2 separate regions of the Homo sapiens genome follow, and region 2 is linked to region 1. Evidence: promoter capture Hi-C in 16 types of primary human blood cells and fetal thymus (Javierre and others, 2016). All regions are on one chromosome and are shown on one strand. Each heading gives the region's core, a stretch centred on a gene start or on the middle of the fragment in contact. The rest is flanking DNA. Distances are from core to core; before and after follow the strand shown.

Region 1 (5,193 bases), core at 2,694-5,193:
TCCAGAGCTCCCGGGGACCCCCTTGTCCGCCCGTCTCCTAGGGCCTGGCACTCCCTGGCCCCGCAGCCCGGGGACCTCCACCTTCCCCAGGCGGCAGCCACAGGTCCCGCCGGGCCCGTCCGAGGTCTGCGGCCGCCGAAGTCGGGGTCTCAGGGCGTCAGGGAGCAACCAGGCCGCGGGGAGGGAGGCCGGCGCCGGCGCGGAATTTCTTTATCGGGATTTGAGAGCCGCAAGCTTCTCCTTCGCTTCTTTAAGCGATCACGGAAAGACACCTTTCGATCTTTTGTCAGACATCTTGGCCCTTAATAGCTAAATTTATTTGGTTTAAAGCGGCCACGGGAGAAGCAGGGAGGGAAAATCTTTCGTCGGTCATTGGGTGGCCTAGATAACAGGCTTGGAGAGAGAGCGGAGAAGAAAGTAAAAAGGTTAATGGATGAGGGGAGGGCTGGAGGCGCCCGGCGTGGGGCTTTTACGGCGACCCTCCCCCGGCCGCCCCCTTATCGCAGCCCGAACTTACCCGCGGCGCAGCGAGTACATTAAGTCACGTAAACAGCGCGGAGAGGAATGCCACCGCGGTGACCTTTCGTGCGCCGCCGCCGCTAGCCCACCTCCGCGCCGTGCTGGCGGCCGCCGGCGGCGCACGGGGGTCGGCCGGGGGCTGCGCCGGGCAAGGGGCCTCCGGGCCGGGCCTGGCCTGCGCAACGCGCCGGGCCTCGATTCCGACCGCCCGGGGACCCCGGCGCTGGCTCCGCGCGGTCCTTCCCCGAAGTGGCCGCCGGCGGGAGCCGGCGCTGGGGGTGGGGGCGACCTGCAAGTTTCCGCCGCCACCACCTGACGTTTCTAAAGAGTGTTTTTGGTTTCCCGAGATTTAAACTTAAAGAAAATCACCGCCAGGACTCTGGTCGACGGCCTACCGTGCAGTGCGGCCGCTGAGTGGGGGACACGCCGCCCGGAACCCACCACTGGCCCCAGACGCTGGCAGGGGTGGGGGGCTCTGAGGTGACCCCGGGTCCTTGGGTAAAAGCGTCCCAGAGACGGGAAGAAATATGGTATAAGCGAGAAGGCCTCATAAATCTGGGCTGTTAAAAATCTAAGTTAAAAATATGTTTTAAGTCAGAAATGCATTCTTTTTCCTTATGAAACATCGCCGAAGCAGCCAGTTTTGTGACAGGATCGTAAAATGAGCGTGAGTTTGCGGGGGTGGAGGTGCACGGGGACGCGGGTCCTTGCTGGGTCTCGCCGCTCCTCCGGAAGCGGCGCAAGACTGGGTCCCCAAACACCCTTCCCGTTTGGCAGCCAAGCCCCCGCCCCCTGCCCAATTGGCTGCAGTGTTCTGGGTGGATTCGAATCGCGAATAGTGGTGTGGCGCGGCCGAAATAAATCAACCCTGGGGACAGGCCGCGCCCGGGAGCCAGCCCTCTGTGAGGGTAAGGGGGACGACTTGCCCAGGAGGGGCCGCTCATTGGGTCGAAACAGTCCGGAGAGAACAGTTTCGTTCAAGATTAGCAAATCCCGAAAGAGGAGACATGCGAGGGTGAAAGAAAAAAAAAAAGGAAAGGAAGGAAAAGAAAAAATATATATCCCCACGAAGAAAACAATAACTTTTAAGAGCTGTCCGCGTACTTTGGACACTAGTGGGGGCCTTCTCCCCAGCTCTTGGGTTTCTCCCTAGTTTGGGGTGCACCTCTTCCCTCCAAACTTCCTAATTTGCCGGCCTTCCAGACCAGCTGGGGCGCGCCCAGGAAGCTCCACGCGCGGGTCTGGGGCTCATGGGAGTGGCTTTGAAAACATGCTTGTCTTCCCCAGAGCGGTCCCTAGCGCCAAAGATGCATTGGGGAAAAGGCACATTGGAGACGTCAGGCAGCCTGGTTTTCTGTCTGAATCAACTGTACGAGTTAAACAGTTTTATTTCGAAATTAACCAACATAAACAACAACAACAACAACAACATTCACTACCCATTCCCTCGTTAGGTTGGAAAACCAGTCTGAAAAAATAAATACAATCTGTGACCATGAAAAGGAGCAATCACTTATTTTTCCCATATGTTTTGAACATTATTTTTAAAAATAGATTGGGAATCTGGAGGGTAAAATGCCGGGTCCCTTCCCGAGCCCTTAGAGCCCGAACGTTGTCGAATCGGTCAATGTCCACCCCGCTGCTCACCTCTGTCCCAGCAGCGCCGGGGCCAGCGCGCCCTCCCGCCGCGTCTGCGGAGCTGCGGGAAAAGCAGGTCCCCGGGGGGTATCGAGTGTCCAGGGATATCCACGCAGACATCCTTGTACTTGCAAATACAAAGAAACACACAGGACAGAGATCAGGCTCGCGCCAGGGCTCGATCTCCTCGGGGCTCAGGGTTGGAGGCCGTACACAGCCTGGACACAAACTGAGCCAAAGAGTTTATTTTTAGCAAATAAGATATGAGTTTTTAGAAAATTGCTTCGAATAGCAAATCCGAGAAACATTATTTCAAAACGTTGGAATCAAAGGAAATCAAATGCCCACAACCCATTTCCGTCAGTGCTTACAAATGAGCTTCTGCAAAACCCAGTCCACTTAAACATTTGGTCGGAACTCACGAAAAGAACCAAAAGCAAGGCATTCCGAGTCCTGGCGGGGGTTGAGCGGCCGGGCGGACGCCTGGCTATCTCTTCTGGGAGTCGCGCATTCGATCGCATTCAGGTTAAAATTTAAAGCCCCTGGATCCTGCTCCAGTCGCCAGCCTCTCCATTCCAGAGTTTTCTACCTTCAGCCTTTTCCAAATGCGGCCACGCTGAAACTGGGAGCCGCCGCAGTGATTGGGGGAGGCAAAGTGGAACGTAATAAAAGTGACTAAATTGGATGAGAACGGTTTCTGGACCTTCTCGGTAGCAATTTAAAATTCAGAAGTGTTTAGAAGCAATTTACAACGAAGAATGAAAAACGAAGAATTCTCGCCAACTTCCTGAATTCCTTGCCCCCTCCCCCGCACTGCCAGGCCCTGTCCCGCTCCCCCAGGAGCCACAAGTTCACAACTCACAGTTACGTGCAGAGGAAACAACGCTTAGCTACGAGGTCTCACCATCTCTGGAAACCATACTTTACAAGGCACCTCTCCACCCCAGTTCAACTCTGCACAGGCTCCTCTTCCTTCCCTAACTGGGAAAACACGAAAATAGAAACAAAACAAAAAACCAGAGCCTAAACGCTTTCTAGGAGACCGACCTTCAGAAAATCATTTACTTGGATTTACCTGGGCGGGGGGTAGGGGGTGGGGTCGGGGTAAAGTATAAAAATTCATTCTCACAAAAACAACGCCTCTTGTCCTAAAGTCTCCCTCGGCAGCCTTCTGGGGTCACGTCTGTCGGAAGAAATCCTTTCTGTAAGCGAAAGGGAGCGAGACATATATCACGGCTCCTGCAGCGGACGAGCCTGCGGCCGCGCGAGTTGCCGCTGACAGATCGGCGCTGATAACCCCGCGACGTTCATTTCCAGTCCCTTTTGCCCGCTAGGGACCGTATCAGTTTGTACAGAGTTGTGATAACTGTTTGGAGGGAGCGAAGAGGGGGTGTGTATATGAACGTGGGGGTGGGGAAGCAGCATTTAGCGCTGGGTCCAGGGAAGGTGACACCCCCTCTTCGCAGTGACTTATCTGTGACTTACCTGAAACTCTCCAGGGAAATATCAGAAACTCTCCAGGGACATCAAAAGTTGGAGAGCGTCCTCGGACACGACTGATGTGGAAGCCCTTTTCCATTCTGCGTACCCCATAGACTACCTTTCCGTACATGACGACCCGAGTTAAAGTTCCCAAAGGTCAGCTGGGGAATGTTGTCTTGAGGTTCCCGAAACCACCACGACCTGAGCCGTAGCATCCCGAGATAGGGTCGGAGAAAGTTTAAGGTCGGTCTCACACAACTTCAGGGCAAAAAGCGCATTTGCTGTGAAGGGGCTAGGCGGGGGTTGGGGGGCGGGGGGGCGCAGAGCACGTTCCCCCTTCCTTCTGGGGGCGTGCTGACCCAAGGTCTGGAGCGCCCCTCCCGCCGCGGCGGCGGCGCGGGACTGTGCACTGCCAACTCCTCCCGTGCCAAGGCTCCCTCCCCCTCCCTCGTGTGGGTGTGTGTGTGCGACTGCGGGAGCGGGAGGGTGCACCGCCGCTGGATGGGTGCGGGTCGCTAGCCAGGTCAGGCGTTCTGTGGCCTCCGCCCCTCCCCCGGGGTCCCTGGGCTCGGTGCCCCCCGGGTGGACTCGCCCCCACTCCGGGGACAGGGCTTGCGGCTCAGCCCACGCCCGCAGGCAGCGCGGCTCTCATTGTCTGCCTGGGCGGCGCGCTCCCCTCCCCCCTCGCCGTCCCCTCCCCACCCTCTTTTCTCTCCTCCCCTCGATCCCTCCTCCTCCTCTTCACCTCCAGCGCCCAGCTGCTCGCTGAGCGCAGTTCCGACCCACAGCCTGGCACCCTTCGGCGAGCGCTGTTTGTTTAGGGCTCGGTGAGTCCAATCAGGAGCCCAGGCTGCAGTTTTCCGGCAGAGCAGTAAGAGGCGCCTCCTCTCTCCTTTTTATTCACCAGCAGCGCGGCGCAGACCCCGGACTCGCGCTCGCCCGCTGGCGCCCTCGGCTTCTCTCCGCGCCTGGGAGCACCCTCCGCCGCGGCCGTTCTCCATGCGCAGCGCCCGCCCGAGGTTCGGCTGCTTCCTCCTCGCGCGATCTCCCCGCTTTCCTCCCCTCCACCCCTACTCGTCGCGGGCCCCTGGCCTCCGGCTCTCCGGCCCTCTCCAGGCCGCGGTCGGCTCCGACGGTGTTTCCCTCCTTCCCTCCGGGCGGGCTGAGGCGGCTCCCAGGCTCCCGGGACACCGCGGACCAACTTCTAGTCTCTTTTTCTCTCCTCGAAGCGCTTATCTGCGCGCAGCCTTATCTCCGAGTTATCTCGGCGCAAAGGGGCGGGAGCCGGTAGTTAGGCAGGCAGAGAAACTTCTTTCTTGCTATCTAGCCAGGTCTGTGTGTGGGCATTAATTTTAGTGTGGTAATCTCCGATGAGCCGAGGCGATTTGGAAGAGCAGCCTGGAGGAGGCCAGCCCGGCTGCATTTCACCTCCCTCCCCCACTCGCTCCGAGTCTCCCTGTCATTCTTCCTGCTCTCCCATTTGGGGTCGCCTCGGCTCTGGGGCGGTCTCACGCTCCCCCCTCCCCAGCCCGTTGCGTTCCCCCTCCTTTTCTC
Region 2 (5,029 bases), core at 2,417-4,916, 1.2 Mb before region 1:
GTTTTTGGAGAATCTTCAAGTGGATATTTGGAGAGCTTTAAGGAATTCATTGGAAACGGGAATATCTTCATATAAAATCTAGACAGAGGCATTCTCAGAAACTTCTTTGTGATGTGTGTCCTCAACTAACGGCGGTACATCCTGTCTTTTGATACAGCAGTTTGGAAACACTCTTTTTGTAGAATCTGCCAGTGGATATTTGCATAGCTCTAATGATTTCTTTGGAAACGGGAATACCTTCATATAAAATCTAGACAGAGGCACTCTCAGAAACTGCTTTGTGATATCTGCATTCAAGTCACACAGTTCAACATTCCCTTTCTTAGAGCAGGTTTGAAACACTCTTTTTGCAGGATCTGGAAGTGGACATTTGGAGCGCTTTGACGCCTTTGGTGATAAAGGAAATGTCTTCACATAAAAACTAGAAAGAAGCATTCTAAGAAACATCTTTGTGATATATGTACTCAACTAACCGAGTTGAACCTTGCTCTTTATAGATCAGCTTTTTAATGCTCTTTTTGTGGAATCTGCAAGTGGATATTTGGATAGCTTTCAGGATTTCGTTGGAAACGGGATTACAAACAAAATGTAGACAGCAGCATTCTCAGAAACTTCTTTGTGATGTTTGCTTTTAAGTCACAGAGTTGAACATTCCCTTCCATAGAGCAGTTTAGAAACACTCTTTCTATAGTATCTGGAAGTGGACATTTCGAGCGATTTCAGGCCTATGTTGAAAAACGAAATATCTTCCCATAAAAACTAGACAGTAGCATACTCAGAAGCTTCTTTGTGATGCTTGCTTTTAAGTCACAGAGTTGAACATTCCCTTTCGTAGAGCAGGTTTCAGACACTCTTTCTGTAGTATCTGGAAGTGGACATTTCGAGTGTTTTCAGGCCTATGGTGAACAAGGAAATATCTTCCCATAAAAACCAGACACAAGCATTTGCAGAAACTTGTTTGTGATGCGTGTCCTCAACTCACAGAATAGAACATTTCGTTTGACAGAGCAGCTTGGAAACACGCTTTTTGTAGAATCTGCAATTGGATATTTGGATAGCTTTGTGGATTTCTTTGGAAACGGGAGTATCTTCATATAAAACCTAGACGGAAACATTCTCAGAAACTCCTTTGTAATGTCTGCATTCACGTCACAGATTTGAACATTCCCTTTCATAGAGCAGGTTTGAAACACTCTTTCCGAAGTATCTGGATGTGGACACTTGGAGCGCTTTGACGCTTACGGTGAAAAGGAAATAACTTCCCATGAAAACTAGACAGAAGCATTCTCACAAACTGGTGTGTGATGTATGTCCTCAGCTAACAGAGTTAAACCTTTCTATTTACAGAGCAGTTTTCAAAGACTCTTTTTGGAGAATCTGCAAGTGGATATCTGGAGATCTTTAAGGATTTCATTGGAAACCGGAATATCTTCAGGTAAAATCTAGACAGAGGCATTCTCAGAAACTTCTTCGTGATGTGCGTCCTCAACTAACAGAGTACAACCTGTCTTTTGATACATCAGTTTGGAAACACTCTTTTTGTAGAATCTGGAAGTGGATATTTCGATAGCTCTAACGATTTTGTTGAAAACGGGAATAGCTTCATATAAAATCTAGGCAGAGGCACTCTCAGAAACTAATTTTGTGAGATCTGCATTCAAGTCACAGAGTTGAACATTCCCTCTCGTAGATCTGGTTTGAAACACTCTTTTTTTGTATCTGGAAGTGGATCTTTGGAGCTCTTTGACGACTTTGGTGAAAAAGGAAATATGTCCCCATAAAAACTACACCAAAGCATTCTCAGAAACTTGTTTGTGTTGTGTGTACTCATCTGACAGAGTTGAACGTTTCTTTTTACACAGCAGTTTTGAAACACTCTTTTTGTAGAATCTGCAAGTGGATAATTGGATGACTTTAAGGATTTCGTTGGAAACGGGACTATATTCATGTAAAATCTACACAGAAGCATTCTCAGAATCTTCTTTGTGATGTGTGTCCTCAACTAACAGAGTTCAACCTTTCTTTTGATACAGCAGTTTGGAAACACTCTTTTTGTAGAATCTTCAAGTGGATATTTGGATAGCTCTAACGATTTCGTTGGAAACGGGAATGTCTTCATATAAAATCTGTACAGAAGCACTCTCAGGAGCTACTTTGTGATATCTGCATTCAGGTCACAGAGTTGAACATTCCCTTTCTTAGAGCACGTTTGAAACACACTTTTTGTAGTATCTGGAAGTGGACATTTGGAGCGCTTTCACGCCTTTGGTGAAAAAGGAAATGTCTTCCCATAAAAACTAGACAGAAGCATTCTAAGAAACTTCTTTGTGATATATGCACTCAACTAACCGAGTTGAACCTTTCTCTTTATAGATCAGTTTGAAATGCTCTTTTTGTGGAATCTGCAAGTGGATATTTGGATAGCTCTGAGGATTTCGTTGGAATCGGGATTACATATAAAATATAGACAGCAGCATTCTCAGAAGCTCCTTGTGATGTTTGCTTTTAAGTCACAGAGTTGAACATTCCCTTCCATAGAGCAGTTTTGAAACACTCTTTCTGTAGTATCTCTAAGTGGACATTTCGAGCGATGTCAGGCCTATGTTGAAAAAGGAAATAACTTCCCATAAAAAGTAGACAGAAGCATTCTCAGAAACTTATTTGTGATGGGTGTCCTCAACTAACAGAGTTGAACGTTTCTTTTGATACAACAGTTTAGAAACACTCTTTTTGTAGTATCTGCAAGCGGATATTTCGATAACTTTGAAGATTTCGTTGGAAACGGGAATATCTTCATATACAATCTAGACAGAGGCACTCTCAGAAACTGCTTTGTGATGTCTGCATTCAAGTCACAGAATTGAACATTCTCTTTCATCGAGCACGTTTGTAACACCGTTTCTGTAGTATCTGGATGTGGACATTTGAGCGCTTTGACGCGTACGGTGACATAGGAAATATCTTCCCTTAAAAACTAGACAGAAGCCTTCTCACAAACTGCTTTGTGATGTATGTCCTCCACTAACAGAGTTGAACCTTTCTATTTACAGGGCAGTTTTGAAAGACTCTTTTTGTAGAATCTGCAAGCGGATATTTGGATACCTTTAAGTAGATTTCATTGGAAACGGAAAAGTCATTCTCAGAAACTTCTTTGTGATATGTGTCCCCACCTAACAGAGTACAACCTGTCTTTGGATACAGCAGTTTGGAAACACTCTTTTTGCAGAATCTGCAAGTGGATATTTGGATAGCTCTGACGATTTCCTTGGAAACGGGAATATCTTCATATAAAATCTAGACAGAAGCACTCTCAGGAGGTACTTTGTGATATCTGCATTCAAGTCACAGAGTTGAACATTCCCTTTCATAGAGCTGGTTTGAAACACTCTTTTTGTTGTATCTGGAAATGGATCTTTGGAGCGCTTTGCCGACTTTGGAGAAAAAGGAAATATCTTCCCATAAAAACTAGACAGAAGCATTCTCAGAAACTTGTTTGTGATGTGTGTACTCAACTGACAGAGTTGAACGTTTCTTTTTACACAGCAGTTTTGAAACACTCTTTTTGTAAAATCTGCAAGTGGATAATTGGATGGCTTTAAGGATTTCCTTGGAAACGGGACTATATTCATGTAAAATCTACACAGAAGCATTCTCAGAAACTTCTTTGTGATGTGTGTCCTTAACTAACAGAGTTCAACCTTTCTTTTGATACAGCAGTTTCGAAACACTCCTTTTGTAGAATATGCAAGTGGATATTTGGATAGCTCTAACGATTTCATAGGAAATGGGAATACCTTCATATAAAATCTAGACAGAGGCACTCTCAGAAACTGCTTTGTGATATCTGCACTCAAGTCACAGAGTTGAACATTCCCTTTCTTAGAGCAGGTTTGAGACACTTTGTAGTATCTGGAAGTGGACATTTTTAGCGCTTTGACGCCTTTGGTGAAAAAGGAAATGTTTTCCCATAAAAACTAGACAGAAGCATTCTAAGAAACTTCTTTGGGATATATGTACTCAACTAACAGAGTTGAACCTTTCTATTTATAGGTCAGTTTTGAGAAGCTCTTGTTGTGGAATCTGCAAGTGGATATTAGGATAGCTCTGAGGATTTCCTTGGAAACGGGATTACATATAAAAAGTAGACAGCAGCATTCTCAGAACCTTCTTTGTGATGTTTGCTTTTAAGTCACAGAGTTGAATATTCCCTTACATAGAGCAGGTTTGAAACACTATTTCTGTAGTATCTGGACATGGACATTTCGAGCGATTTCAGGCCTATGTTGAAAACGGAAATATCTTCCCATAAATACTAGACAGAAGCATTCTCAGAAATTTCTTTGTGATGTGTGTCCTCAACTAACAGAGTTCATCCTTTCTTATGATACAGCAGTTTTGAAACACTCTTTTTGTAGAATATGTAAGTGGATAGTTGGATAGCTCTCATTATTTCATTGGAAACGGGAGTATCAACATAGAAAACCTAGACAGAAAAATTCTCAGAAACTGCTTTATGATGTCTGCATTCACGTCACAGAGTTGATCATTCCCTTTCATAGAGCAGGTTTGAAACACTATTTCTGTAGTATGTGGACATGGACATTTCGAGCGATTTCAGGCCTATGTTGAAAACGGAAATATCTTCCCATAAAAACTAGACAGAAGCATTCTCAGAAATTTCTTTGTGATGTGTGTCCTCAACTAACAGAGTTCATCCTTTCTTATGATACAGCAGTTTGGAAACACTCTTTTTGTAGAATATGTAAGTGGATAGTTGGATAGCTCTCACTATTTCGTTGGAAACGGGAGTATCAACATAGAAAACCTAGACAGAAACATTCTCAGAAACTGCTTTATGATGTCTGCATTCACGTCACAGAGTTGATCATTCCCTTTCATAGAGCAGGTTTGAAACCCTCTTTCCGTAGTATCTGGATGTGGACACTTGGAGCGCTTTGACGCTTACGGTGCAAAAGGAAATATCTTCCCATAAAAACTAGACAGAAGCATTCTCACAAACTGGATTGTG

The links. Contacts are between HindIII fragments. The CHiCAGO score rates a contact against its expected background, and 5 or more counts as called.
Region 2: a contact is called between a fragment that was not itself captured here and the fragment with the promoter of GATA6-AS1 in region 1, in 7 of 17 cell types (naive B cells, naive CD4 T cells, activated CD4 T cells and 4 more). The highest score is 14.0, in naive B cells.

The regions. Positions count from the first base shown.
Region 1 is chr18:22,165,025-22,170,217 of GRCh38, forward strand. GATA6-AS1 (GATA6 antisense RNA 1 (head to head)) reads right to left here and starts at 3,944. Exons shown (of 2, transcript NR_102763.1): 1 at 3,643-3,944; 2 at 1,874-3,359. GATA6 (GATA binding protein 6) reads left to right here and starts at 4,565. Exons shown (of 7, transcript NM_005257.6): 1 at 4,565-4,658. RefSeq lists enhancers at 12-590, 2,210-2,713. The HindIII fragment of the contact is 8,900 bases long and covers 233-5,193 here.
Region 2 is chr18:20,930,896-20,935,924 of GRCh38, forward strand. No RefSeq gene overlaps it. Among named protein-coding and RNA genes, the nearest start is that of ROCK1, 180 kb to the right of the region's middle. RefSeq lists enhancers at 2,219-2,826, 2,827-3,432, 3,433-4,040, 4,041-4,646, 4,647-5,029 and 3 more. The HindIII fragment of the contact is 5,772 bases long and covers 781-5,029 here.